6 separate regions of the Homo sapiens genome follow, and regions 1, 2, 3, 5 and 6 are each linked to region 4. The links are contacts of gene promoters, found by promoter capture Hi-C in blood cells and fetal thymus (Javierre and others, 2016). All regions are on one chromosome and are shown on one strand. Each heading gives the region's core, a stretch centred on a gene start or on the middle of the fragment in contact. The rest is flanking DNA. Distances are from core to core; before and after follow the strand shown. Region 1 holds the start of RUSF1 (RUS family member 1). Region 2 holds the start of AHSP (alpha hemoglobin stabilizing protein). Region 3 overlaps ZNF267 (zinc finger protein 267). Region 4 holds the start of KRABD5 (KRAB domain containing 5). Region 5 overlaps ZNF267 (zinc finger protein 267). Region 6 has its middle 9.7 kb from the start of LINC02190.

Evidence for each region. The method cuts DNA at HindIII sites, captures the fragments that hold promoters and counts their contacts. A CHiCAGO score of 5 or more calls a contact.
Region 1: a contact is called between the fragment with the promoter of RUSF1 here and the fragment with the promoter of KRABD5 in region 4, in 9 of 17 cell types (M0 macrophages, naive CD4 T cells, megakaryocytes and 6 more). The highest score is 7.8, in M0 macrophages.
Region 2: a fragment that was not itself captured here is called in contact with the fragment with the promoter of KRABD5 in region 4 in 9 of 17 cell types (neutrophils, M2 macrophages, naive CD8 T cells and 6 more); the score reaches 11.9 in neutrophils.
Region 3: a fragment that was not itself captured here is called in contact with the fragment with the promoter of KRABD5 in region 4 in 13 of 17 cell types (activated CD4 T cells, neutrophils, total CD4 T cells and 10 more); the score reaches 8.9 in activated CD4 T cells.
Region 5: a contact is called between a fragment that was not itself captured here and the fragment with the promoter of KRABD5 in region 4, in 3 of 17 cell types (M2 macrophages, total CD8 T cells and neutrophils). The highest score is 5.7, in M2 macrophages.
Region 6: a contact is called between a fragment that was not itself captured here and the fragment with the promoter of KRABD5 in region 4, in 2 of 17 cell types (neutrophils and M2 macrophages). The highest score is 9.4, in neutrophils.

What each region holds. Positions count from the first base shown.
Region 1 is chr16:31,505,315-31,509,894 of GRCh38, reverse strand. RUSF1 (RUS family member 1) reads left to right here and starts at 1,504. Exons shown (of 13, transcript NM_022744.4): 1 at 1,504-1,821; 2 at 2,017-2,131. The coding sequence starts at 1,522. It overlaps RUSF1-DT (RUSF1 divergent transcript), which reads right to left and starts at 1,431. Exons shown (of 2, transcript NR_186401.1): 1 at 859-1,431; 2 at 329-722. RefSeq lists enhancers at 954-1,523, 1,088-1,802, 1,803-2,518 and silencers at 1,624-1,673, 1,734-1,793. The HindIII fragment of the contact is 29,640 bases long and covers 1-4,580 here.
Region 2 is chr16:31,523,078-31,528,070 of GRCh38, reverse strand. It overlaps AHSP (alpha hemoglobin stabilizing protein), which reads right to left and starts at 171. Exons shown (of 3, transcript NM_016633.4): 1 at 109-171. The HindIII fragment of the contact is 4,720 bases long and covers 1,164-4,993 here.
Region 3 is chr16:31,880,434-31,885,115 of GRCh38, reverse strand. It overlaps ZNF267 (zinc finger protein 267), which reads right to left. Exons shown (of 4, transcript NM_003414.6): 2 at 492-618. Among named protein-coding and RNA genes, the nearest start is that of ZNF267, 9.0 kb to the right of the region's middle. RefSeq lists an enhancer at 4,572-4,682. The HindIII fragment of the contact is 4,868 bases long and covers 1-3,924 here.
Region 4 is chr16:31,711,511-31,716,655 of GRCh38, reverse strand. It overlaps KRABD5 (KRAB domain containing 5), which reads right to left and starts at 3,412. Exons shown (of 5, transcript NM_001130913.2): 1 at 3,221-3,412. The coding sequence starts at 3,223. RefSeq lists enhancers at 1,952-2,001, 3,126-3,245 and a silencer at 2,976-3,035. The HindIII fragment of the contact is 15,701 bases long and covers 1-5,145 here.
Region 5 is chr16:31,898,181-31,903,198 of GRCh38, reverse strand. All of the region lies in intron 3 of ZNF267 (zinc finger protein 267), which reads right to left. Among named protein-coding and RNA genes, the nearest start is that of ZNF267, 27 kb to the right of the region's middle. The HindIII fragment of the contact is 9,198 bases long and covers 1-5,018 here.
Region 6 is chr16:31,541,360-31,546,341 of GRCh38, reverse strand. No RefSeq gene overlaps it. Among named protein-coding and RNA genes, the nearest start is that of LINC02190, 9.7 kb to the left of the region's middle. The HindIII fragment of the contact is 8,775 bases long and covers 1-4,982 here.

The sequences.
Region 1 (4,580 bases), core at 255-2,754, 200 kb after region 4:
AACAAACACGGAGTTAATGACAACTGCACGGTTCAAGCGATTTTCTTGCCTCCGCCTCCCGGATAGCTGGGATTATGGCCACACCACCCCCACGCCCAGCTAATTTTTGTATTTTTAGTAGAGATGGGGTTTCAACATGTTGGCCAGGCTGGTCTTAAACTCCTGACCTCAAGTGATCCACCTGGCTCGACTTCCCAAAGTGCTGGAATTACAGGCGTGAGCCACCACGCCCAGCCCAAGGATCACTTTTGAGGCCAGGAGTTTGAGAGCAGCCTGGGCAACATAGGGAGGCCCTGCCTCTATTTAAATAAATATGTTTTTAAAGTACTTAGTCTTCAAACCTTGTTTTATTTTTGTCCTCTATTCAAACCAGTACCTGAATTTAGACAACATTACAGAAATGTTGTGATTAGGCCATTTGTATTTTGAAACCCGAAATTTAAAGAAAAAAAAAAAGAAAAGAAAAGAAGTGTTCAAGTTTATCTCAGTCAGAGAGAGACTGTGTTTGTGTGAGATAAGGCGAAGTGGGGTAGAAGGGCCTTCCAGGATTAAGTCCACGAGGAAGGTGACGGTTTGGGAGAATCTGAAGTTTCAAATAAGGAGTTGTCGGTTGGGATCAAACTGTGGGGATCCAAGAATGCCAGGCTAAGAAACCAGGATATTTTATTTTCTGATAAAAAGAGGATGCTTTTTTGGCAAATTTCTGCTTCGGAGTGAAGATGCTGCACTAGATGGGAAGGAGAAGAGGAGAAATGGAAAGAAGAAAAGGTGAGTTCCAAGGACAGAAACACTCCCTCTTTGGACTCCCCCCAATTTCATGGACTCTCTCCCGCAAAAAAACACACAAGAACTTCCTGCCTTGTTTCCTTGTTTTGTGACATCATTGCAATCTCTTGATTTTTTTCATCCCTCGGATTCCTTAGCATCCTTCAAAAGTAATGTTCCTGCAGTCTCGCAGAAGGCCGAAGGATGGAGAATTTCTAGTCCAGGCCAGGGACACTCAGAAGAGAGAAAAAAAAAAGAACAAAAAAAGACCCAAGCAGCTTCACAGGGCCTCATCTGGTCCAATTTCTTCTCATGATGCATTCATTCACTCATAAATATCTTTTGAGCACCTACTATGTGTTGGGTAGATCTAGGGATAAAATCAGGGTTAAAAATACAGTCGCTGGTCTCACAGCAAAAAAGGCACCTGAGGCCCAGAGAGGGCCACTGACTTGCCAAAAGTCACAAGCTAAAACTTCTGTGGCCGAACCGCGTCTCGAACACAACTGGCGGAGGCCCACGGCGCCTGCAGCCCAGCTGCAGAATGCTACAAAGCAACGGGGGCCGGTGCCGGGGCGTCCGAAGCAGCGCCGAGGCCGGAGAGAGCGACAGTCAGTTTCCTAACTGCGCGGCGGACGCCGAGGCCGGCGCCTGTTCTTGAAAGATGTCCCTCTGCAGCCGCGGTAGCCCAGCCGGAAGTGCCGCCTGCCACGTCCACCGTGCGGCAGGGGCGGGGCTGGGATCCAAAAGCTCGGCATGGCTGACGACGCGGGTTTGGAGACCCCGCTGTGTTCCGAGCAGTTCGGCTCCGGGGAGGCACGGGGCTGCCGCGCCGCCGCGGACGGGAGCCTGCAGTGGGAGGTCGGGGGCTGGCGCTGGTGGGGGCTCTCCAGGGCCTTCACGGTCAAACCTGAAGGACGAGATGCGGGCGAAGTGGGGGCTTCCGGGGCCCCCTCACCGCCCCTCTCCGGGCTCCAGGCCGTGTTCCTGCCTCAGGGCTTCCCTGATAGCGTCAGCCCGGACTACTTGCCCTACCAGCTGTGGGATTCCGTGCAGGTCAGCTCGGTCGTCTGGGGCAGAGGACAGTGCAGGCCACTCCTCCCTCCCCAATAATGGACGGGTGACTGAGACTCGGAGCCCGGGGGGCGGGGGGTCTGACATGCCTCATACACCAAGAACAAGAACAGATGAAGGCACTTAGACCGCCACGCTCCTACGCCCGCTTCTCACCCTACTTGTTTTCTTCTCCAGGCGTTTGCTTCCAGCCTCTCCGGCTCCCTAGCCACCCAGGCAGTCTTGCTGGGCATAGGGGTGGGGAACGCAAAAGCCACTGTTTCAGCTGCCACGGCCACCTGGCTCGTGAAAGGTGAGCTGCACCCCTGGAGCCTCACGTATTGCTGCTTTCAGCCCTGCTTTCGCTGGGCTCTTATGTGTATATATGTATGGACTCGTGCCCCATTAGGTAGAATTCAGGCAGGTCTCCCCAGTGATTAGAGTGGTGCTTTGTAACCCAGTCTTACTTCCCACATCTGGAAGACCCTCATCCCACTCACCAGCCTAGCAGCCGCACTCCATTCCCCACACAGACTTCTGAGTCTCAATCATCTGGATCCCAAATCCCGTCCCCTCCCCTTTATCCCTATTCTCTTTGTGGAAGATTGCATAAGAATGCAATTGATGGAATAAAACTGCCAGCTGCCCAGGATAGGGGAAATTGGTGAGCTCCAGAAAAAAAAGATATAGTTGGTCCTGAGAAGGAGAGAGGAGAGCCTGGAAAGAATGGAAGGTATTGTGTATGCTCTGGGATACCAGATGATGCTGTAAATAATAGAGTGACTATCTGCTGAATATGTACAGCTTTTAAAAAATTGTTTAAGGAAAAAAAATACAGTTTGGTACCATGCCACCCAGAGAGGGAAATAGAACAGAAAAGGGAAATTGTTACATGTTCTACACGAGGAGGCCCCATGGCTTTTGCCACTGTCCTTTGTCTTTCACTACTGCTCGCAGGGGATATTTATTAGGCTGGTGCAAAAGTAATTGCGGGGTTTCTTTGTCGTTATTGCCATTAAAGGTAATGGAAAACCCGCAATTACATTTGAGCCAACCTAATAGATCTAAGGAAAAGCGCTTTCCATTCGTAGCATCAGTCTGGCCACATCCCTTGTGAGCCTCTCTGGATTTTTTTGAGAAAACAGGAGCTTCCTGTTTACACCTTTACCATTAAGACTGAGAAAACTGGGCCGGGCACGGTGGCTCACGCCTTTAATCCTCGTACTTTGGGAGGCTGAGGCATCCTGGGCAACATAGGGAGACCCCCATCTCTATTTTTTTTTTTCCAGACTCGTAGTCTCACTGTCACCCAGGCTGGGATGCAGGAGTGCAGTGGCACAATCTCAGCTCACTGCAGCCTCCTCCTCCCGGGTTCAAGCGATTCTCCTGCCTCAGCTTCCCAAGTAGCTGGGATTACAGGCATGTGCCACCCTGCCCCGCTAATTTTTTGTATTTTTAGTAGAGACAGAGTTTCACCATGTTGGCCAGGCTGGTCTCGAACTCCTGACTTCGGGTGATCCATTCGCCTCAGCTTCCCAAAGTGCTGGGATTATAGGCGTGAGCCACTGCGCCCGGCTTGTTGGCCGTATTTTTGGAATGCATTTGGAGCTTGGGTCAGTAGTTTTTGTTTTCATGTGATGTCACCAACATGTTGCCTATACAGATTGAATATCCCTTATCCAAAATGCTTGCAACCAGAAGTGTTTTGGATTTTGGAATTTTTTTTGGATTTTGGAATATCTTCATGTATATAATGAGATTTGTTGGGGATCAGACTCAAGTCTAAACATGAAATTCGTTTATGTTTCATATATACTTTATACACATACCTTAAAGGCAGTTTTATACAGTATTTTCAATGGTGTGCATGAAACAAAGTTTGTGTTCATTGATCCATCAGAAAGCAAAGATGTCACTGTCTCAGCCACACGTGGACAATCTGGTTGGTTAGCGTCCCCATCGTTCCTGACTCTGAATGTATATGCTACCAAGAAGCAGTCATTTTCTTATACCTATTCACACAGAAGTACTTAACAGTATAAAACATGATATACCACTAATACAGTGAGAAATTGTGTGTTCAGGGTAACTAAGCAGCACAGCAGATCACCAGAACACCTGTATCAGCTTCTGAACCATAGCAGCAGCAACAAAAACGGCAGGCTGTCAGTCTTCAGCTGTTTTGGTGAAAAGGTTACTGGACACCATATTTTATTTTTTTAAGGTGAGAAGAAACATTAGAAGCAGTTGAAGGACAGGAAGCGGGTCCTCTAGGGATGAGGAAGTGTTCTGCTGGATGGCTTTTTAAAATGTTTCCTCCAGAGTCATTTGCCTCATTAACTGTGGTTTCTATCTTAGAAGTCTCTCTTGGATTCTATAAACTGCCTGATTTCTTGTTCCGTTATGAATGTATGCTGCTCTAGTGCCACAGTAATCCCCTCCCACATCCTCACCGTGCTGTCTATAGGCACTTTTTCTGTAGTGGTAACAGTATCCTCTTCATTGTCACTGTTACCATGATTGCCTTGATTCAGAACTGAAGGAGGCCAGCCCTTCCACACTGTGGGTATTTCTCATCAGGTGGGACGAGAGACTGAGAAAAGAAATAAGACACAGAGACAGAGTATAGAGAAAGAACAGTGGGCCCAGGGGACCGGCACTCAGCATGCGGAGGACCAGCACCAGCACTGGTCTCTGAATTCCCTCAGTATTGATTACTATTTTCACTATCTCGGCAAGGGGAATGCGGCAGGAGAACAGGG
Region 2 (4,993 bases), core at 2,274-4,773, 190 kb after region 4:
CACTTCCTCCCCTTAAAAATCCCTCCTGCCCTGCAGGGCTATCTCCTTTCCAAAACCTTTCACATCCTGCCCTGCTCTGAGGTCACGATTTTCCCAGGTTGGGCTCACCTTCAGGTCTAACAGGCTGTATATGTCTCACCCACACTCTTGAGGGTGCGTGAATCTCTCTGTGCCAAGCTATAGATGTAGGCAAGGAGTCAAGTGTCAGCCTAAGATAGAAACGCCCTGCATCTAGGTCCTGAAGGAGGGTGATAGGTCATTCTAGGGAGGAGAAGAAGGGAGAGGCTTCCCTGAAGGTAGAAAGATAACAAGGCCAAAAAAAAAAAAAAAAAAGATAAATGAGGAAACCCAGGAAATGCAAGAAGGCAAGAGCCAAACCAGGGGCATGTTCCTGCTTTTTGCCCCATATTTCAGTATCCAGGCTCGAAATGCTATGGAAATTGACGTTTACTGAGCCCTATTACATGACAGAGGCTTTTGTGTAATCACAACGATGTGATCGCAATGATTCTCCCAATTCGGAGATGATGTATTAATAGCAGCTTGCATTACATTTATTCATTTGTGCCAAGCACTGTTTCAAACATGTACAAAATATTTATCCTATAAAATTTCTTTTTAGACACATTTTGCAGATAAGCCACCTGTAAGCGTGTGGACTGAACTCCACCACGCTGTGCTCCATAAGAATGGAGATAAATAGCCGGGCGTGGTGGCGGGCACCTGTAGTCTCAGCTACTTGGGAGGCTGAGGCACGAAAATCGCTTGAACCCAGGAGGCAGAGGTTGCAGTGAGCCAAGATCACACCACAGCACTCCAGCCTGGGTGACAGGGCGAGACTCCATCTCAAAAGAAAAAAAAGAATGGAGATGGATTTGTCTTGTTTACTACCCTGTCAACAGGTACCCAATAAAGCAGAAATACTCTTTTTCCTCTTTTTAAATATTTTTCCAGATATTTTCCATTTTCAGTAGATGTTTCTCAAATTTCAAAATCACTATATACTAATTGAAATAATTAAAACAATACAAAAACGTACACTGAAAAACTGAATCATTTTTGCCCCCTCCAAAGTAACCAGCATTAAACATTGTATATTTCCTGTCACTTTTTTTTTCCATTCAAAACCCAACATTCATAGGTGCCTATACACTCATAAAGCTTTGTTGATTTGCCTTTTTGGTTGTAGCATTTTTTAATCAATATACAGCAAAACTGACTTCCTTTTGGTGTACAGTATATTAAATTTTTTTTTTTTGAGAGGGAGTCTCCCTCTGTGGCCCAGGCTGGAGTGCAGTGATGCGATCTCAGCTCACTGCAAACTTTACCTCCCAGGTTCAGGCGATTCTCCTGCCTCAGCCTCCCAAGTAGCTGGGATTACAGGCGTGCATCACCACGCCTAGCTAATTTTTGTATTTTAGTAGAGATGGGGTTTCACCATGTTGGCCAGGCTAGTCTCGAACTCCTGACCTCAAGTGATCGACCCACCTTGGCCTCCCAAAGTGCTGGGATTACAGGTGTGAGCTACCGCATCTGGCCTAGTTTATTAATTTTATAACAGATTTGTGTAACTACAAACGCAGTTAAGATACAGAATGTTTCTGTCACCCAAAAACCACTCCTTCACGTTACCCTTTTGTAGCCACCCCTACCCTCACCCATAACTTCTGGCAACCACTTATCTGTTCATCACTACAGTTAAGCCTTTTTCAGGATGTCATATAAATGGAATCATACAGTATGTAACCTTTGAGACTGACTTTTTTTGGTCAGCATGATGTTCTTGAGCTCCATCCAAGTTGTCACAAGTGTCAGTGGACACATTGCATTGTATGGATGCACTGTAGTTTGTTCATTCAGCCACGGAAGGACATCTGGATTGTTTGTACTTTGGGGCAAGTGTGAATAGAGTTGCTATAAACATTTGTGTACAGGTTTCCATGTGAACATGTTTTCATTTATATAGGGTGGAAAGTATGTGTTACCGGCCAGGCACGGTGGCTCCCATCTGTGATCCCAGCACTTTGGGAGGTCAAGGCAGGCAGATCACTTGAGGTCAGGAGTTCGAGACCATCCTGGCTAACATGGCGAAACCCCCTCTCTACTAAAAATACAAAAATTAGCCAGACATGGTGGCATGCACCTGTAATCCCAGCTACTTGGGAGGCTGAGGCAGGAGAATCGCTTGAACCCAGGAGGAAGAGGCCGCAGTGAGCGAAGATCACGCCACTGCACTCCAGCCTGGGTGACAGAGTGAGACCTTGTCTCTAAATAAATAAATAAATAAATAAATTTATTATCTTACAGACTTAGAGGTCAGAAATCTAAAATGAGACTCACTAGGCTAAAATTAAGTTGTCCTCTAGGCTGTGTTCCCCTTGGAATCTCTGAAAAAGAGTTCTTTTTCTTTCCTCTTCTAGTCTATAGAAGAACCCACATTCTTTCACTCCTGGTCCCTTTCCAGCTTGAAAGCCAGCAATGACCACCAGGTCCAGTCTTTCTCACATCACACCAGGCCGACTGTCTCCTACATCCTTTCACTTCTAAATAATTTTTCTTAAATATTTCTTTAAAAATAATTCATTACCAGATGGGAAAGATCAAGATCCCAATGCCCTTCCAAAGCTCATTAAGGAAAAGTTTCAGGAAGGTCTCTGGTACATGCCAGGAAACTCAAAAGAGATGGTGCTGCCTCAGATGGCTTAGAAGACCATGCTGCCAAGAACACATCTAACATTGAAGCCACGCACAGTGGCTCATGCCTGTAAGAGGCAGAGACGGCAGGATCGTCTGAGCCCAAGGGTTCAAGACCAGCCTGGGCAACATAGTGAGACCCCATCTTTTAAAAAAAAAAGGAAAAAAAAATCTAATTTTGTTCATTCCTCAAAATTTCCTGGCACAGTTGGAACTAATCTAACTACCTGGACTATAATGAATTGCAGAGTAAAATTAGTGAGATGTAGTGAAGAATTGAAGTCTCCTCCCTCAACCAGTGTCTTGAGAATAGCAGGGGAAACTGATTCCCTTTCAGCATGCTAGATACATCAATAAAGGAAGGGTTGAACGTGAGATTACAAAAACACATTTGCTAAAGAATTGTAGAAAACCAGGATCACAAACTCATTCTGCAACAGAAAAATAAAGCACTGCTGATTTACAGAGGAATTCACTTCTGGTGATGTCTCTTAAAAATTAAGAAACCTAATAGGAACTCCCTCATCGAGGCAGGCTCTGCTTCAGCTGAACAAGAAATTAGCCAGAGGGAGGAAAAGAGAACTGTTTGGACTTCCAGGAAGGCCTCTCCTTCCACCGAGAGGACTGCAATGAAGACCTCAATCATCAGGGAAAGAAGAGCCTTCTCCAGAAATCTGATTGGAATTGATGACCCAAATCCCACTCAGTCAACGCAAAACCCTGACTTGCTCGTGGCAGTACCAGGTTGGAGTCAGGGCAAAAAGGTTGTAGATTTCATGTTACATAGTTTGGCCCATGGTTTCCCCTGTGAACATTTTGGGAGGGAGGTGAGAGCTGAACTGGTTAGGTGGAACCTTGGTCTTATTTCCTGGAGATGTGACGTTTTTGGGGCCTGTTCCTGCTGTGACTGGCACAGCAATCAGGACCTGCAGCCTCCAGAGGGTCCCAGGGCTGGGGAGGAGACATGAGCCTTGCGCATCTGAAGGTCAGCGTCTTGGCAGCATGGCTACTCGCAAGAGGGAGGAGCTCACTCTGGATCCATTCGAGAGAGACTTGTCCCTTCCCCCTCTTCTGCCCCACCCCTGGGCCACTTTCCTGTCCCCTGACTCCCACTTGACTTTGTTTTCACTAATTGGAGCTTAGCTCAGAAAATGGAGGGGGCTGAAGTTATAGGTTATGGGAGGGGAAATTTAAGTTTGGGAAGACAGAGGCTCCCTTGATTGGCACTATCAGCCACATCTGCAGCCACATGAGGGTCTCAATGCTGGGGCAGGGGGCAGTGAGACTGGCCAGGAACCTGAGTCCCCCGGGGACTCGCAGACACCTGCCCCACACATCCTGAGTGTGCTGAGGGAGACCCAGCCGAGATCAGCTGTGCTCCTGGGTAGGTGAGAGCAGGCCCTGCAGGGGGCCCAGTCCACCCAGGAAGGATGCCCAGAGTGGCTGAGTGTGCACCTCCCTCTTCTGCCTCTCCTTTTCCGCTGCAAGCAAGACCGGGGGTCAGGAGTTACAGGTGCCAGAGTCCAGAACGGGCCCCTCCTCCCCAGCAATGTGGGTGGGGTCAGGGGCTCAGGTCAAATTCAAGGAAAATCTTCAAGCCACATGGTGTAGAGCCAAAGCTAAAGAGGCCGCCCTAATAATAGACAGCAGCAGCCCCTTACAGATATGCTCAGACTCATAGGGTCTCAAAATGCAATTCTCCACAGTAGAAAGGACATCTGCCCTGACAGAAGACTGCACTCCTAGATAAACAGGGGTCATCTGGCCCATTATTTAAAGGTAGACCCGTATGTTCAGATTATGTTAGTGGAATAAAATTCATGACATGAACATTTTCTTTGGAAAGAAACATCCCTTAAATGGCTCCTGGAGCCTAAAACATCCTCTGGAACTCCCTTGAGGCCATGTACGTCATGACTGCTAAAATTATGATGAGAACCAAGTCTTATTTTCCTACAGGTAAATAGAACAAATGGAGACAAAGGCCTGGGCAGCCCCACTGCATGTTTCAGGAGGAAAAGTAATGTCAGCTAGGGATTCTTTCCTTTAACTGTCTTCAAATTCTTTCATCCAATCCTTCTAAAGAATCTTTGTGTATACTCCCACACAAGTTTTGTAGACATTTATTTTTGCCTCATACATTTAAATCATAGCAAAGGCTTTTAATTGTGACAGGATCCAAACACATTTAAACAAACCGCACATCGCTCTTTTGAATGTGTCCAACACAATGTTAATGGGGTGGTGATTTGGCCCTGACCACTATATATTTTTTTAAAAACCAAACAGGTTTTTCCTT
Region 3 (4,682 bases), core at 241-2,740, 170 kb before region 4:
TTATTTTTTATTTTTATACTTTTTTTTGGCCCCACAGGACAGGATTAATTTCTAACTTAGTACTGTGCTCAGTAGAAAAAATAAGACATTATAGAAGATTCTTGAAAAGTATTTCTCAAAATATTGTTTCCTACCAGCTTCTTTAGAATATTTAGGAAGCATTTTAAATCTGGGGATCCTGAGCTTCTGCAAATCTGACTGAATCAAAAACAAACAAAAAAAATTGGATTTTAAAGTGTAAGCAACAATAGTTTATGTCAACCAATTTCTAGAATCACGACTAGAGTGAAACTTGTACATCACCTCAAATAAAAAGGCGAATGTCAAAATCAAACATTATGAAATTTTTTCTACTTCAACAAAACCCCTATTTTTTTCCTGAAAACAAGAATCTAAAACTAACTCATACAAAGCACAAGATCCCAAGGGACATTCTGAAAAGAAAATAAAACTCTTAGTTATTAGATATTCCGAAGGCAAGTTATCCTCACCCAGAGAGACCAGGTTTCTGTAGTTTTCTAACATCACATCCTGATACAAATTCTTCTGAGCTGGTTCCAGGTGTTCCCACTCCTCCAAAGAGAATTCTACGGCCACATCCCTGAATGTCAACAGTCCCTGAAATAAAAATAAAGAATACACTGACCATGTGGCCATGGCAGAGTTCTTCATTTGTCCCAAGATGAAATGACAGTTATTGGTTCTGACATATATGAGTGACCTGAATTATTCAGTAAGATCATTTTTAACACAGTAATATTTTCTAATGTAGTCTCAAACTCTGTGGAAAGAAAATAACATAAAATCCACAAAACTAGTGTAGATATTTATATCAAATGTAAAATATAAAACTAAGGCATCAACACAGGAATATACATTTTTGGGTGCTATATTTACATCATCCAGAATCAGCTGTGTATAATTCTCAGGTGCAAAAGTCATGGTGACTTAGAGGCATACTTCTCAAATTGTATAGTATACAACAATAAACTGGAGATCTTCTTCAAAGGCAGAGTCTGATTCAGGAGATCTAGATTTTGAGTTTCTGCATTTCCATATTTTTTAATTTTTAATTTTGACACAGGGTCTCGCTCTGCCACCCAGGCTGGAGTGCAGTGGTTGAATCTTGGCTCACTGCAGCCTCAACCTCCTGGGCTCAGGCGATCCTCCTGTTTCAGCCTCCTGAGTAGCTAAGGCTACAGGCATGAGCCACCATGGCTGGCTGAGTATCTGCATGTCTAACAAGTTCACCAGTAGTGTTAATGCTTCAGGCCCCAAAGCCACTTTTGAATAGCAGAGAGGTCGAACACTGAGGAAAGAATTCAGGCATGATGTGAAACTGAGAGTTTTATGAAATTTACAAGTTATAACAGCTAGAATGGTAGTAATCCTTTTTGAACATGCACAATATATCAGATATCATCCTAAAAGTTGTTTACATATATAAAACCCAATAAATAATCTGAGAAAAATTATATTCTTCCTCTTATATAAAAATTATTTTCCAAATATTTGCTACATAGTAGTTTGTATTTTGCCTCAGTTTATCTGATTTAGAATTTATCTCAAAGGGACATACCGGCCAATATACAGAGACAACCTTAACAGAATGTTCAGAGAAGATTTCGTAACTGAGTAACGAAAACAAGAAAGCAGCCACACAATAGTGATCGAATAATGCTTTCATTTTATGTGCATATGTGCACATAATGGTAACTATATACACACTAAAAGTAAGATAATATTTCTGTGTAAATAAAATTTAAAAATATTTTAAATTGTATAAAAACTATAAAACTCTTTGTGGGTGATGCCTTTTTTGTGATGCCTTTATAAAGACCAATACATACAATGAAATAAAGTAAAGGCTCTTGTTTCTGAGTCTGGTATTTTTTTTCAAGTTTTTGTTATGTTTATTCTATGTGCTATTATATATTTTAGAATTTTAAGACAATAGACATATTTGTTATATGTTAATTCTTGTTCTTTCTCTGAAAATATAGAGAATAAATAAGCATATGCTTGTGACATGAGATGAAATAAAATGGAAACCTACAGAACTGAGACCTGCTTCAGAACTTCCAGTCTTAAAAGCTGTTATCTCCTGTCAACAAATGTGAGAGCCTTTACTCTGCAAAGAAAGCTACAAGCAAAGGGAAACCAAAAAGAAATGGGAGTCTCTGGATTAAATGTGATGGTTTATAGACATCACTCAGTAAATCCTCCCTCCTAGATACTCATTACAAAGAGAAAAATGATTAACTTTATAGCGAAGGAATCTGACAGAGAGCACCTGCACCAAGTGAATGAAGTTAGCATCGTCTGTAATAAGACAAATTGGTACCAGTGCTAATGCACAGATGGGCCCATAATCATTGCTGTGATATGGGCGGAGGGGAACAGTAAATCATAATCTTAATATAATCATAAAAAAACAATCTGTGGGGGAAGATACAGGTGACCATAGATCTTCAAACTGGTTATGTGACCCTACTTAGAAGCCTGGGCTGAGAATCACTTAGCTAAGCATTGCCTCTCAAGGTTCAATACGCATACATATCATTTGGTATTCTGGGCCCCCTCTAAGTAATGTGATTCTGCAGGTTTGGAAAGTTTCCATGAACTGGCTTCTTTAACAAGTCCCCTGTCAATGCTGATGTTGCTCCTCCTAGACCCATTATCAATAGCACTCAGCTAGAGGAAGCAGACACAGCACAGAGTCCCTTACGCCCAATACTCTAATCACAACAAAAATACTTTTCGTTCACAGTGAGGACCACCAACCACTGTCCTGAAAGATCACACCCTTTGCCAGCCATTTAAAGTCTACAGATACAGAGACTGGAGAAGACAGTTATGTCTAAGTCAGCATTTGGAAAACAGCACGGATACATGCATTAAAGCAGTGTTTATTGAGCTTGTACTATGTGCTCACAGTATGTACTGTGCTGGGAACATCACATGGTGTGAGTTAAGCCATATAAACCCCTGGGATATGGGTCCTAAGTATCCCATAATTCCCAGCAGGATTTAGATAATGGCTCAGCCTTTCTATTTCTTCTTGTTTCCCTATCACTATAAAAGCTAACTATAGACAGATGGGAGGGATACAGAAAGGAAGGAGTCAAGTTTAGTTCACAAGAATTTCTCCACTGGGCACGGTGGCTCACGCCTGTAATCCCAGCACTTTGGGAAGCCAAGATGGGTGTTATCACTTGAGGTCAGGAGTTCAAGATCAGCCTGGTCAACATTGTGAAACCCTGTCTCTACTAAAAATACAAAAATCAGCTGTGCATGGTGGCACACCTATAATCCCAGCTACTCGGGAGGCTGAGGCAGGAGAATCATCTGAACCGGGAAGGCAGAAGTTGTGTGAGCCGAGATGACACTATTCCAGCCTAGGCAACAGAGTGAGATTCGGTCTCAAAAAAAAAAAAAAAAAAAAGAAGAAGAAAAAGAATTTCTCATTATTCTCTTTATATCTTTATACTGACTTTGTGACAACTTGTGAAGCAACTACTGGATCTGCAGAAATGAAAAAGATGTTGCCAGGTGGAATGTTTCTAAAGGTACTGGTTTCAATAAGAAAAAAATTTAATTTTCAAATAATTTTGAAAAAGTGAGTCCTGTGCTCCCATTTACCTGCTTTTGGGTTTGGGGAAATTGTGAGCACCACCTCTGAAGAGATGGCAGCAGCGGCCACCCAGAAATCTGATCTCCTCTAGTCAGTTCTGTGAGGGGAGGCTCCAGGGTAGGGACAGACCTGGACCAGGCTCAGAAGAGGCTGGATTTGGGCAGAGCTGGGGCAGGGGCTGGGCTAGGCTTCTCATCTCTACATTGCTGCTTTATTTTCAGCTGTCTTTCCTAAGCCTGACCAACAAGAACTTGACTCCCATGGTTTGCCTTGTTTAAATAGTTTAAGCTTCATCCTATTTTGTAACATGCAACAAGCAATTTAACCAAAACATGTAGGGCTTTCTACGAAAATTATATTAGTAGCTACATAATTATCTTTAACAAGAAAAAATCAATATAAATAATAATTATAATAACAACTCTTTTGTCCACGGGTGGCCCTTCGGGTGGTGACATCAGAATTCACAACGTCAACATAAGGGCAGTGTCCCAAATCAAGCCCAAGTTCCCTGTACACCTCCATTCTTGCTCCTGACCACATGATGTTGAATTCAACCATTATCCGTCTGCTTTAGACTGAAAGTTCCTGGATGGTAGGGACTATGGCTGCTGCATCTGTTTTCCTAGTGGCCATATGAAATGGAAGCAATTGGTTTACCTATCAGTATGAGTCTCCAGAACTCCTCCTTGTATTTCACCCACACATTAGAAAACTGGAGCAACTCCCACTTGGATACCAAATAAGGAGATTCCTTCTGTTAAAAAAGAAACAAACCCTGATGACTCATTCTTCTCCCTCTGAGACGGAAGCAAGATTAGCCCGTTGTCAGCCTGTCCCCTGCCTGCACAGGATATATAACCAAGTGTCCCCTAGGTGCTGGTAAGAGAGTCCCTGGTAACTGTGTGATGAAAACCCAATAGTGATTCAGGCAGGAAAGACTCAAGTTGTCCTTGTGGAACCAGAATAGAAAATTGAGTTGTCATAGTAGGGCCACAGATCCAGGATCCAGATATGTTATTACCTATACCTGATCAGCTGACTCTTG
Region 4 (5,145 bases), core at 2,163-4,662:
GTAATCCCAGCACTTTGGGAGGCAGAGGCAGGTGGATCACTTGAGCCCAGGAGTTCGTGATGAGCCTGGGCAACATATTGAGACCCTCCCTGTCTCTACAAAAATTGCAAAAATTAGCCAGGTGTGGGGGGCACATGCCTCCAGTCCCAGTGATTGGGGAGGCTGAGGTGGGAGGATCACCTGAGCCCAGGGACGTCAAGACTGCATGATCATGCCACTGCACTCCAGCCTGGGCGACACAGTGAGAGACCCTGTCAGGGTTTGTGGGGAAGTTAAAAGGCAGAAGGGAAGGTGCTACTAAGAACTCTCACATGGGGGGCAGTGCAGAACTGGTGGAAGGACTGGTTTGTGCTACAGATACTGGCCCAGGCAAGGCTATGCTCTGACTTACTCCTGTGTCCATGCAGGCAGATGAGACTATGACTGGGTGGTCCACAAGCCTAGGTTGATGGAGGGACTGGGTTGCTGCTGCAGTTTCAGGGTCTGGGGGCAAGGATAAGCCAGGAGTCCTCTAGGCACCTGTATGGGAATTTTGGCAGGAAACTCTAGGAGCAAAGGTGCTATGGGCACAATTCCTGAGGGTCATGTCTTGTCCTGAAAGGGGCATGGCGACGCCAGTGCCTAGTGGGTGTGTTCAGAGTGGGTGGGAATTATGTGGTGGCAGCACAGTGGGGGCAGGGGTCTGTTCTCAGAACTTCTTCCCTTTCTGTCCTCAGTCGCTTCTCACCCTGGGAGGAGACGTGGAATCACAGGACAATGTGTAGGGTGACAGTCTGTGTGCAGGGGAATACAGCCTCCCTTCCTGGAGACACCCAGAGTCTCTCTCCAGCCCAGGTCCCTGTGCTATCTTTTTTATGACACTGTGTGGAGTTTGCTGAACACCAGCCAATTCTCCAACACCAACTGGTTGTCCAACAACTCAATTCTGACAGCACCCAGAGGCAGCACAGACCCCACAAGTTCAGAGTTCAGTGCCACAACACTGCCCCTCTACAGATGCCAGTCACAATTCCCCAGGGGCCATCTATACTTCTGAGCTACTGCCTGTAAGTTAGGGCCTCCCATAATACCCTACTCAAGTTCATTAATTTTATACAAGGATTCACAGAACTCAGCAAAGACTGTAATTGCATTGACCAGTTTATTATAAAAGATACAACTCAGCCTAATGGAAGAGATGTGTAGGGCAAGAGAAAGGAGTGGGGAAAAGATGGAGTAGGTAGTTAACCCTGGGAAGCAGCTGTGATGAAAGAAATCCCCCTTCCTTTTTGTTCTTCAAGAGCAGCTTACTGCAAAGAATCTTCTTCCTGTTATGACTTAGATGATGCTCCCTGTTTTAGGTATCACAAAGCCACAAACTCTCCTATTTCCTTTTTTTCCCCCTCATAAGCAATTAAATAAAGAGTTTTATCTTCGATGGTCAAAACAAAATATGTGTTAACCAAAGTTGCTTAAATTTCTCCCCTTCTCCAAGGTGCCTGAGGTTTGTCCCACCCACAGCCTGAGTCAACATTCAACCCCTCTTTATGCCCCTCCTAAGAACAGGCTGACTTCAGGGTGAAACATTCTCTGATCAGGGATCTGATTTAGTCCAGGAGTCGTGCCCTTCCCCTCCCACCTTGAATCATGTTTGCTCCTCCCTATGAAAGAAAGGCCTTTTCTGCTTCAACTGTGAGATCCACAAATATCTTACAGTTGGTGCTTTCCTCCTCTTGCAATACTCCTTTACAATTAAGGCACTTCTTACCTATATCCAGATGTTTTATTTGACCAAGTCAAGAAACAGCCCCAGGACACTAACAATTCCACCCTCAGAAAGAGCTTCCCAATCTCCCTTCCAGCCCAACCTCGACCACATCCGCCTGTGAATCCCCTGCTTTCCAGAACTCTGCAGCTTCTCCCAGTAACAAAGGGCTCCCTCCATGGCTGCTGTGAACCTCAGGGACACCTGAAGGGGGCGCTCCCCAGGAAGAACTAACTGGGCCTTCAATGACCTCCTTTTGCAGGCTCAAATAAGACTGAGGTCTTCTATGCCTAGTCAGGGTTATTCCACACACCCGCTTCTCAATTCGCAGGCTCTCTCTTTCAGGTCCATCGAGGTGGGGTGCCTTCTTCCCATCTCATCAGCTCTCCACAAGCATCTAGCGAGCTCTAAAACCTACCCCAGGATAGCAAACGTCAGACCTTCCTCCACTCTCCTGGCACTGCACGCCTTCTGGGGAGTGCTGCCAATCCTACCTCAACTGAAGGGACAGGAGCAGGTGCCCAGCCAGTCAGATGTTCAGTGACCTAACAGGTTTCAGGAAAATAGCAAAATCACTCAAAACAGTTTTTATAGAAAGGAAGGAAACTGTAAGGCACTTACACTTTATACTTCAACAGGTAAGGCCAAAATACCTCTTTCGAGCAAGAAACATGTCATTTAATTATTTCCATAATAGCAGATCATTTAGTATATGTGAACACTTCTAGGAGGTGCCAAGTCCTGTCTCATAACATTTGGCATTAAAGTCGGACATCCAGATAGCAGTAGAATATGGAACACAGATATCCACTGTCACAAATCCTCCACTGCAAAAGAGAGGACCTGATATTTTAATGAATGTTTGTAATTGACCAATTAATCTAGCACACTTTCTGTGGAAATGTATTCGTTTTCTACAGCCAAAGTGGAAGAGAGATTGTCCCTATTTCTTTTCCCCAGCAGCATTCCTAAGCTGAGCCCTGGGATTTTGAAATCGCTGCTCCAGAGGACCCTAAACCACAAACCACGGCGGCAGGCTTCCCATTTCACCAATCGCTGTTTACCTAAATCAACCCTTTAACGCTTTAAGGGTGACTCCCCTTAATTTGTAAGAGGAAAAAGGAGACTGGGACACCACGGGGCACAGTATCTTCCCACACACGAATCACACGCCGACCCGGGATTTCCCCTAAGACCCTCACGTTCTCACCGCACAATCTCGGGAGACGCCGGGCTGCGGCGACCCAAAGACGGCTCCGGCCATGGCAGAGGTCGCTCTGCGGGGTCGGGAGGGGACCGGACGCGCGGGGTCCCGGCTGCCGGCCCGGCCGCCATCTTGCGGCGGAGGGGACCAAGGGCCGAGTTGCGTCCGCGGGGACTCAGGGCCCAGACCCCGAAGCTAACCTCAAAGAGGGTTCCCGCCGCTTCCGACCGCCCCTCTCCCTCTTCTGGGGACCCCCGACCTGGCACATTCACCATTTCCCAGCTTCCGGGATGTCCTGGCGTCTGAGCTACGGATCTCCCGGTGCCTGCCGGTCACAGAGTAACAGAGGTTCTGTCTATTCTCAGAACGCGAAGCCGCCTTGGCCTCCCAGATGGAAGGACTGGGAGCCCCTGGTGAAGAGACTGAGCTCTTACTGCAGCCAACAAAGGCCACCGCCAAATCCCGGAAGCCGCCCCTGCTCTCCGGCTACTCCCGATTGGAGGATTTCCACTCCGACGCCACTGATTGGGTAAAGCTCCAGGCCCCGCCCTCTCACTCGTTCTGCTTTTTGAATGGGAGACAGGCTCATTGAGGTGGGGCCACCTGCTGAGGGTATTACAGCTAATTTAAGGGGTGAGCTTGGACTTGAAATGCACTTGCTTTCCCGTACCTGGTTTTGCTTGTATAAGGCATCTTATTAGCTAATTAAGTTTAAGAAGGAGGGCATTTGGGCACCTTTAAAACAACTTTTTAACCGTTCTAATAACACAGGAAAGACCCTCATCCCATCCTTAGCACCTCTCATCACACGGTACCCCACTGCTCAGGACATAACTGTGGGACTGCAGAGGAAACTGCTGGGGTTTTTGGGGAGCATGCAGGAGGCTTCAACAGCCAAGGTAACGGTGGCTTCCCTTGGGTGTCACTTAAAATCTTGGGGTCAGGGACATCTTTTATCCAGTTGGCTCAGGGAAACTAACAGACAGGAGGATTGTAATTTTTTTTTTCTTTTCTGAATTTCCAAGACATAAAGGACTATCCAAGCATCCCAAAAGGCATTCAATTATACATAAGGCTGAGGGCCTCCCTGCTCTGGAGAGGGATGGCCTGGCAGCCACCAGCTGCAGTGAGCTGAGATAGTGCCACTGCAATGGGCCTTAAACTTGCCCTCTTGTAGACAGGCCACCTCCACACACCCGCTTCTCACATCGCAGGCTCTAACCCTCCGGTCCATCAAGGTGGGCTGCCTTCTTCCCATGTCATTAGCTCTCCACAAGCATCTAGTTAGCTCTAAAACCTACCACAGGATAGCAAACGTCAGACCCTCCTCCACTCTCCCGGCACTGCACGCCTTCTGGGGAGTGCTGCCAATCCCACCTCAACTGAAGGGACAAATCTGGGCAGGTGCCCAGTCAGATGTTCAGTGACCTAACAGGTCCAGCATGCCCAGGGCCTGACCCCACAGCCTAGCACCCCTCCCCCACCTGGCCTTCAATCCAGCCTTTCTTCTCCAATGACGGGATGTTCACCTGTGCCACAATCCCATTAGTCTAGTGACGAGGCCAGGTAAATCCCAGCTGAGTGCCTGTGACTCCACCCTCTTACTTCCCACTCAGGTGACATTACAAGCATAACCTTGAATTTGAGCTAATTTATACATATTCCTCTCCTAGTAACCTGTTTGACAACAGCCCTCACAATCCAGAGACTGGGGCAGCAGGTTCCAAAACCTCACTTTATTCCAATGTGAAATGAAGACATGATGGTTTAAAAATGAGAAAAAGTTCCTGATAAGCTGTGGGGGTGCTTCACTTGCCAGCTCATGCCCATTCCCTCTGAAACAAGGTGTCTGTTACCCATAAACAACTCTCTGTAAAGCCCCAGGTAGAGGTCACAGCTGGACGTGGCTCCCTCAGGCTCACAGGGTAGCAATCTCCTCCCCCAGTCCAGGCTTCCACAGCAGGCACGGACAGGTGCAGAGAGGGAGTGGCCATGGCCTGTGGGGTCCCCTGCCACCCTCAGAGCTAGTCTCTGCAGAAGGTGCTGTGTGGTAAGCAGCAGGGCTCCACAGAGAGGTGACAACCCTTCCTGTGTCTGCAACCTTTCCCCAGGATCCATGATTCAACCCTGGCTCCCTAGGCCCCTTACCCAGCACACCCTCCGTGTGTCAGGCAGCTCAGGTTAAAATGGGGAGAAT
Region 5 (5,018 bases), core at 1,504-4,003, 190 kb before region 4:
TAAAATACTGGTAAACCGAATCCAGCAACACATCAAAAACCTTATCCACCATGATCAAGTGGACTTCATCCCTGGGATGCAAGGCTGGTTCAAAATACGAAATTCAAGAAACATAATCCAGCATATAAACAGAACCAAAGACAAAAACCACATGATTATCTCAATAGATGCAGAAAAGGCCTTTGACAAAATTCAACAACGCTTCATGCTAAAAACTCTCAATACATTAGGTATTCATGGGACGTCATAGATAAGAGCTATCTATGACAAACCCACAGCCAATATCACACTGAATGGACAAAAACTGGAAGCATTCCCTTTGAAAACTGGCACAAGACAGGGATGCCCTCTCTCACCACTCCTATTCAACATAGTGTTGGAAGTTCTGGCCAGGGCAATCAGGCAGGAGAAGGAAATAAAGGGTATTCAATTAGGAAAAGAGGAAGTCAAGTTATCCCTGTTTGCAGATGACATGACTGTATATCTAGAAAACCCCATCGTCTCAGCCCAAAATCTCCTTAAGCTGATAAGCAACTTCAGCAAAGTCTCAGGATACAAAATCAATGTGCAAAAATCACAAGCATTTTTATACACCAATAACAGACAAACAGAGAGCCAAATCATGAGTGAACTCCCATTCACAATTGCTTCAAAGAGAATAAAATACCTAGGAATCCAACTTACAAGGGATGTGAAGGACCTCTTCAAGGAGAACTACAAACCACTGCTCAATGAAATAAGAGTATACAAACAAATGGAAGAACATTCCATGCTCATGGGTAGGAAGAATCAATATTGTGAAAATGGCCATACTGCCCAAGGTAATTTACAGATTCAATGCCATCCCCATCAAGCTACCAATGACTTTCTTCACAGAATTGGAAAAAACTACTTTAAAGATCATATGGAACCAAATAAGAGCCTGCATCACCAAGACAATCCTAAGCCAAAAGAACAAAGCTGGAGGCATCATGCTACCTGACTTCAAACTATACTACAAGGCTACAGTAACCAAAACAGCACGGTACTGGTACAAAAACAGAGATATAGACCAGTGGAACAGAACAGAGCCCTCAGAAATAATGCCGCATATCTACAACCATCCGATCTTTGACAAACCTGACAAAAACAAGCAATGGGGAAAGGATTCCCTATTTAATAAATGGTGCTGGGAAAACTGGCTAGCCATATGGAGAAAGCTGAAAATGGATCCCTTCCTTACACCTTATACAAAAATTAATTCAAGATGGATTAAAAACTTACATATTAGACCTAAAACTTAAGAACCCTAGAAGAAAACCTAGGTAATACCATTCAGGACATAGGCATGGGCAAGGACTTCCTGTCTAAAACACCAAAAGCAATGGCAACAAAAGCCAAAATTGACAAATGGGATCTAATTAAATGAAAGAGCTTCTGCACAGCAAAGGAAACCACCATCAGAGTGAACAGGCAACCTACAGAATGGGAGAAAATTTTTGCAACCTACTCATCTGACAAAGGGCTAATATCCAGAATCTACAATGAACTCAAACAAATTTACAAGAAAAAAACAACCCCATCAAAAAGTGGGTGAAGGATATGAACAGACACTTCTCAAAAGAAGACATTTATGCAGCCAAAAGACACATGAAAAAATGCTCATCATCACTGGCCATCAGAGAAATGCAAATCAAAACCACAATGAGATACCATCTCACACCAGTTAGAATGGCGATCATTAAAAAGTCAGGAAACAAGTGCTGGAGAGGATGTGGAGAAATAGGAACACTTTTACACTGTTGGTGGGACTGTAAACTAGTTCAACCATTGTGAAAGTTGGTGTGGCGATTCCTCAGGGATCTAGAACTAGAAATACCATTTGACCCAGCCATCCCATTACTGGGTATATACCCAAAGGATTATAAATCATGCTGCTCTAAAGACACATGCACATGTATGTTTATTGTGGCAGTATTCACAATAGCAAAGACTTGGAACCAACCCAAATGTCCAACAATGATAGACTGGATTAAGAAAATGTGGCACATATACACCATGGAATACTATGCAGCCATAAAAAATGATGAGTTCATGTCCTTTGTAGGGACATGGATGAAGCTGGAAACCATCATTCTCAGCAAACCATCCCAAGGACAAAAAACGAAACACCGCATGTTCTCACTCATAGGTGGGAATTGAACAAAGAGAACACATGGACACAGGAAGGGGAACATCACACACTGGGGCCCGTTGTGGGGTGGGGGGAGAGGAGAGGGATAGCATTAGAAGATATACCTAATGCTAAATGACGAGTTAATGGGTGCAGCACACCAACATGGCACATGTATACAAATGTAACAAATCTGCACGTTGTGCACATGTACCCTAAAACTTAAAATATAATAATAAAATAAATAAAAAAATAAAAATAAGTTAAAAATTAAAAAAAAAAAAAAAAAGAAAGAATTCTTGGGGCCGGGCACAGTGACTCATGCTTGTAATCCCAGCACTTTGGGAGGCCAAGACGGGTGGATCACGAGGTCAGGAGATCAAGACCATCCTAGCTAATGCAGTGAAACCCCATCTCTACTAAAAATACAAAAAAATAGCTGGGCGTGGTGGCAGGCACCTGTAGTCCCAGCTACTCAAGAGGCTGAGGCAGGAGAATGGCGTGAACCCAGGAGGCGGAGCCTGCAGTGAGCCAAGATCTCGCCACCACACTCCAGCCTGGGTGGCAGAGCGAGACTCCGTTTCAGGAAAAAAAATAAAGAAATAAAGAATTCTTAATAAAAGCTAAATGAATTTATATCCATTAGACCTGTCATACAAGAAATGCTAAAGGAGTCAGTTCTTTATATTGAAAAATAACATGATGGTAGGGAGGAACACAAAATCATGTAACAGTATAAAGTTTTCTGGTTAAGGTAATAATATACACAAATAAAGTATTCGGTATTATTGTAATAATAGTATATAGAATACTTTTAATTCTGCTATACATTTGAAAAGACAAACACTTTCTCGTGTGTGTGACTGTATGGCTCTCTTTTTTTTTTAATTTACCTGATACAATTCTGTATTATTACTAATTACATGGAAATATAGGATACAAAGATGACACAAAATTTTCAGTATCTTGTGGAAATGAATACACTACACACACAGTTTATATATATATATAAATAAACACATTGTGTGTGTGTATGTGTGTGTGTGTGTATATATATATGGATGACACCAAGGGTTCAATTAAAATGCAACTGGCAGCTAGATTAATTTCTAAAAAGGTAATTAAGAAGTCCTAATTGCAATTTACTTCTTGATTCATTTTTGTTTTATATTACAATCTAGGTTATTAGAAAATACACTCATATGAGTATATCATTTATAATATGCTTATAAAGTATTTTAAATAAAAATATTGAGTGGCATTATGCAATCTGTATAACCAATAACTAGGCATTAGAGAGCCTGTTAACTTTGAAATACATACAGGTATGCAGACTTCCTGTTCCTAAACACCACAGTTAGGCACATCTCTCACATTTTCCTTTCACTATGTAATTTTAAGATTTTTTCCTCTTGCTTCTCTAGTTCTTTTAATCGTGATGTTAGGGTGTCGCTTTTAGATCTCTCCTGCTTTCTCTTGTGGGCATTTAGTGCTATAAATTTCCACCTACACACTGCTTTAAATGTGTCCCAGAGATTCTGGTATGTTGTGTCTTTGTTCTCATTGGTTTCAAAGAACATCTTTATTTCTGCCTTCATTTGGTTATTTACCCAGTAGTCATTCAGGAGCAGGTTGTTCAGTTTCCATGTAGTTGTGCAGTTTTGAGTGAGAGTCTTAACCCTGAGTTCTAATTTGATTGCACTGTGGTCTGAGAGACAGTTTGTTGTGATTTCTGTTCTTTTACATTTGCTGAAGAGTGTTTTACTTCCAATTATGTGGTCAATTTTAGAATAAGTGCAATGTGGTGCTAAGAAGAATGTATATTCTGTTGACTTGGGTTGGAGAGTTCTGTAGATGTCTATTAGGTCTGCTTGGTCCAGAGCTGACTTCAAGTCCTAGATATCCTTGTTAATTTTCTGTCTCCTTGATCTAATATTGACAGTGGGGTGTTAAAGTCTCCCATTATTATTGTGTGTGAGTCTAAGTCTCTTTGTAGGTCTCTAAGAACTTGCTTTATGAATCTGGGTGCTCCTGTATTGGGTGTATATATATTTAGGATAGTTAGCTCTTCTTGCGGAATTGATCCCTTTACCATTATGTAATGGCCTTGTCTCTTTTGACCTTTGTTGGTTTAAAGTCTGTTTTATCAGAGACCAGGATTGCAACCCCTGCTTTTTTTGCTTTCCATCTGCTTGGCAGATCTTCCACCATCCCTTTATTTTGAGCCTATGTGTGTGAAAAGACAACACTTAAAAATAACCGTAAATCTGTGTTAATGGATTCACAATAAAAAGCATATAATTTGTGACCTCAATAAAATACAATAAGGGGACATAGAGAGGCAGGATTTTTGTATGCTACTAAAGTTATCAGGTTAATACAAATTGTTAATAATTTTAAGATGTTTTGTGTAATATCTATGGTAACCACAAAAATACCTATAGTAGATACACAAAAAGAAATGAGAAAGGAATCAAAATATGCCACTATAAAAAAAAATCAATAAAACACCAAGGAAGACAGCAAGAGGAAAACAGAAACAAAAAAGCTACAAAATCTAAAATAAAAAACAAAAAGCAATGTCATTCCCTTTCAGTAATTACTTTGTACATAAAAAAAATTAAATCATTCACAAGACAAAATTTGGCTGAAATTCAATAAACAAGATCCGACTCTATGCTTTCAATAAAAGACCCACTTTAGATACAAAAACACACATGGGCTGAACATGAAAGCATGGAAAAAAGAAATTAAATGCAAAGTAAAATACTATCAGACAAAATATACATTACATCAAAAACTGTCACAAAATACAAGAAAGGGCATTATATAATAATAATAATAGTGTCCACTGACCAGAAAGCTA
Region 6 (4,982 bases), core at 1,380-3,879, 170 kb after region 4:
TTCTCTTTTTTTGAGATAGAGTCCACCCTGTCACCCAGGGTGGAGTGCAGTGGCGCGATCTTGGCTCACTGCAACCTCTACCCTCCCAGTTTCAAGCGATTCTCTGGCCTCACCCTTCCAAGCACCTGGGATTACAGGGGCACACCACCATGCCCAGCTAATTTTTGTATTTTTAGTAGAGACGGGGTTTCACCATGTTGGTCAGGCTAGTCTCGAACTCCTGACCTTGCGATCCGACAGCCTCGGCCTCCCAAAGTGCTGGGATTACAGACGTGAGCCACCACGCTCAGCCTTGTTTTGTTTTTGAGACAGAGTCTTACTCTGTTGCCCAGGCTGGAGTTGCAGTGGTGTGATCTCGGCTCACTGCAACCTCTGCCATCTGGGTTCAAGCAATTCTCCTGCCTCAACCTCCCAAGTAGCTGGAATTACAGGCGCCTACCACCACACCCAGCTAATTTTTTGTATTTTCAGTAGAGATAGGGTTTCACCATGTTGGCCAGGCTGGTCTCAAACTCCTGACCTCAGGTGATTCACCTGCCTCAGCCTCCCAAAGTGCTGGGATTACAGGCCTGAGCCACCACACCCAGCCTATTTGTGGGGTATTTTGAAGCCAATTTTATAATGGCCAACCTTATGCCTTGAGGGATAAAAGATGAAGGGCCAATGTGGATGAGGAATTTTAATGGTAGTTTTGTTGCTCCATAATCAGCCAGAGACAGAACATTGGTTCACTCCTCTTAACCTACAGCATAGGGTGAAGAGAATATTGCCAGGAGGCCTTCACGCTTGTCGATGGGCATCATTTCTTAGGTCTCTTTTTCTATAGTTTGGAGTAAATATAAATGAGGCAATGATTAGACATTTGTCCCTCATAGTGGGCTCTGTAGCAGCTTCTACTGCAAAGGCTTTGGTTGTACAGCAGTCTTCTTCAAGTTCCGTTGCTATAGTTGTGCTAGATAATAGAATAACTCTAGATGACCTAATGGCTGAACGTGGAAGAATCTGCACATGGTTGAATACATAGGTATTAGAGAGATTTAGTTGTAGGGAATTAACAAACAGCCTGCTGGGTTAAAACAAGTACTCTATCTAGCTCACTCCTTGATCTATTTTATTTTAATTGGTTTGGTTTGGACCCTGGCTAAGGAGCATACTCCAAACTCTTGGTATTATCCTCCGGATACTCACAACAGTAATCTCCCAAGTATTCTGTATTCTCTCAAAAGTATTAAATGTTTGTTTGCAGCCATCTATGGAATGGCAAATGATCTCTTTGACTGGAATGACAAAAACTCAAAGAAATGTATGCTCATTGTTTGAAATGCTTGTTCCCTGGTGCTATAAAGAAATAGCACTTGAACATAAATTTAATTTACTCAGCAAGGCCATTTTTACTTCCTGCAGAAAGGTTACACTTGCCAGCAGTTTTGCCAAGAGAGTACACTGAACAAAGGACACAGGGTTATTTATAACCTGACGTGTCCACCCTACTGCTGTGCCTGGTTTCCACTGGCTGGAATGGGGCCTTACATTCTGTATTTGTCCCAATTGGCTAGCAATTTAGAACTTTTTAAAAGAGTCAAAGGCAGAGGAGAACAAAGGAAGGAGGGAGTAACTTGTGGAATACTAAGAAAGGTAAAAACACCTTCAAATAAGGAAGAGGAACAGGCTATGACTTAATGCTTGCTTGAACCAGTATAAGCATGCCAGGGCAAATATTTAGGCTAAATTGTGGGAGCTAAGAACACAAAGTACATTGATTTCTTTATCATGGCTAGCAGATATTTAAGAATGTTAGCACAGGTCTTTGAATAAATTTTGCTTCTAAGGGAAGTTACTATTTATTCCTAATTAAATGGGGAGGAAAATCTTTGAAGAGGAACCTCTACTTTACTTTTTACAATCATGAAAACAACACAATCTATGAATGTATTTGCTGAGACCAGAAGCCCAACATGATAGTGACTCAGAGTAGCACTAAAGCCCTAAGTTTTGGTCACACACAAAATTGAGAGTTTGACCAAAAGAGGAGATTGTTAAATTAAGTTTAGCCTAAACCTGTCTTCTTATATATTTTAAGTTTGGCCTAAAAGTTTCTCTCTACCTAGTTAACTGTAACTTACCTGGATGTATAGATAGACTATGGCCTGCTCTTGTACCAATCATTGAGCTTTGGCCAATCAAAGACGGCCAATTGTTCACATCATGTTCAAATAAGATAAATGCCAAGCTATACCCAATGCAGCTGTTTCTGCAGCTCACTTCTGTACTTTTTTCTGTATGTCACTTTCTTGATTCTGTCCATAAATCCTCTCCAACCACACAGCAGCATGGAGTCTCTCTGAACCTATTCTGGTTAAGGGAGCTGCCTGGTTTGCAAGTCATTCTTTGCTCAATTAAATCCTGTTCAACTTAATTTGCCTAAAGTTTTTTTAAAAAACATGACCACAATGAACATGAGCTTGGAATACCTTAGGTGGGAGGAACATGGTAGGTGACATTGTTGGGAGGATGAGGTGAGGCCAGAATGGGGTTTGAGGGCCAGAAAGGGACCCGTCTGTGAGGCTGATGAGGTCGCTATTGGTAACTGTGCCTGTTATATGGGGACAGGGTTATTACCCCTACGAAACATAAGAGAAGAGGAAAAGCAGGAGGTATTTCCCTCACATTTTTTTACATTTCCACAAGAGCCAATAGCCAAGTACATGGCTTCTATCCTTCATTCTCATAGTGTCCAGAATAACCAGCAATGTCCAGTGAAGAAGGGGCTCAAGTGCACACAGCAGTCTTCTAAATACTGACCAAAACAAATTAGGTTTAAAAATCATCTACATCTTTCTCCATCACAAAATTTTTATCAAGTTAATTTTTAAAATTGGGTTTGATTTTAAAAAACTTTTTAAATATATAAACATTACTTTCAAAATTCTGGTTGGTTAAATGCCAAGACCAGCTCAGTCGGGGGAGACCCTAACCCAGTGGGGTTAGATGAATTAAAGACACACACACAGAAATATAGCATGTGGAGTGGGAAATCAGGGGACTCACAGCCTTCAGAGCTGAGAGCCCTGAACAGAGAGTTACCCAAATATTTATTGACAGCAAGCCAGTGATAAACATTGTTTCTATAGATTATAGATTAACTAAAAGTATTCCTTATGGGAAACAAAGGGATGGGCTGAAACAAAGGGATAGGCTCTGGCTAGTTATCTGCAGCAGGAACATGTCCTTAAGGCACAGATCACTCCTGCCATTGTTTGTGGTTTAGGAATGCCTTTAAGAGGTTTTCCACCCTGGGTGGGCCAGGTGTTCCTTGCCCTCATTCCGGTGAACCCACAACCTTCAGCATGGGTGTCATGGCCATCGCAAACAAATCACAGTGCTGCAGATTTTGTTTATGGCCACTTTTGGGGCCAGTTTATGGCCAGATTTGGGGGATATCCCCAGCATGTCCCCCTTCTTGTTTTTGCAGGGCAATAAAAGCAAAGGTGGCTTTATCACGGTGAGCTACTTCTCACAGGAGTCGGGATCCACATCTGCAGACTACACAAAAACAAACAACACAGATTAAAAGCACAATCACCATTGAAATCACAGAGCCTCCAAGTGTCTTTATCTATTTTAATGGGTTAATAGCTGCTAATCCGTCTGCAGCTCCTTCAAGCACTGCAGTTCCTGGCATTACGGTCAGGTGTGCCTGGGATGCTTTAAATATTTGTTCTTTTAATTTTGCAATATCCAAAGACAAATTTGTAGAGTGTCCTTCTAGATCCTTTTTTATTCTTTCCCAAATTTTGATCTTACTAAGAACCATTAATAGTTTCCACAAATCCTTATGTTTAGCTCCTATAGCGGGCCATATCATCTGAGGTTGAGGTGCCACTATACTGCCATGTTTCAATATAATAGGAACTCTTGCTGTACTTCTTACCATTTCTACCATCTGACCATTTTGTTTAGACCAGTTGAACATAGGGTGGCCATGGCACACTATGCTCCAACACTGTGCTCCAATCCAGTGATCATAACATTGGAGTAATATTTCTAGAGTGGTGGCAACACAAAGTATATCATCCATATAATGAATAATGTAACGCTGTGAAAATTTTTTACAAGTAGGTTCAGTTGCTTGCCCTATATAAGTCTGGCAAATTGTTGGACTGTTTAACATGCCTTGTGGCAACACTTTCTAGTGAAAATGCTTAGCAGGCTGCAGGTTGTTTACTGCAGGAATCGTAAATGCAAACCATTCACAGTCTTGCTCAGCTAAAGGAATAGTAAAGAAACAGCCTTTTAAATCTATGACTATTAAAGGCCAATTTTTTGGAACCATAGCAGAAGAAGGGAATCCTGGCTGTAATGCTCTCACAGGTTGTATAGCTGAATTAATGGCTCTTAAATCAATTAAAATTCTCCATTTACCTGATTTTTTCTTAATTACAAAAACTGGAGAATTCCAAGGGGAAAATGTTGGAGCTATGTGTCCTTTTCCTAATTGTTCAGTAACTAAGTCCTCTAAAGCCTCCAGTTTCTCTTAGCAGCCGTTGTTCTATCCAAATTGGCTTATCTGTTAACCATTTTAAAGGTATAGGTTCTGGAGTCTTAACAATGGCCGCCATCAAAAATGATATCCTAAACCTTGGTGGGAACTTTGTCTTTCTGCTGGAAGCGGTTCCTGCAAATCTTGCAAATTTTTTACTAGTCCCATACCAGGGACATACCCCATTTCATGCATCATATGTTGACTTTGAGGGCTGTATAATTGCTCTGGAATTAGAACTTGTGCTCCCCATTGTTGTAATAAATCTCTCCCTCATAAATTTATAGGTACAGAAGTTATAATTGGTTGAATAGTCCCAGGTAGTCCATCAGGCCCCTCACAATGCAAAATATAACTACTTTGATATACTTCAGGGGCTTTACCAAATCCAACTATGTTAAATTTAGCGAGTTGAATTGGCCACATTGATGGCCAGTGCTGC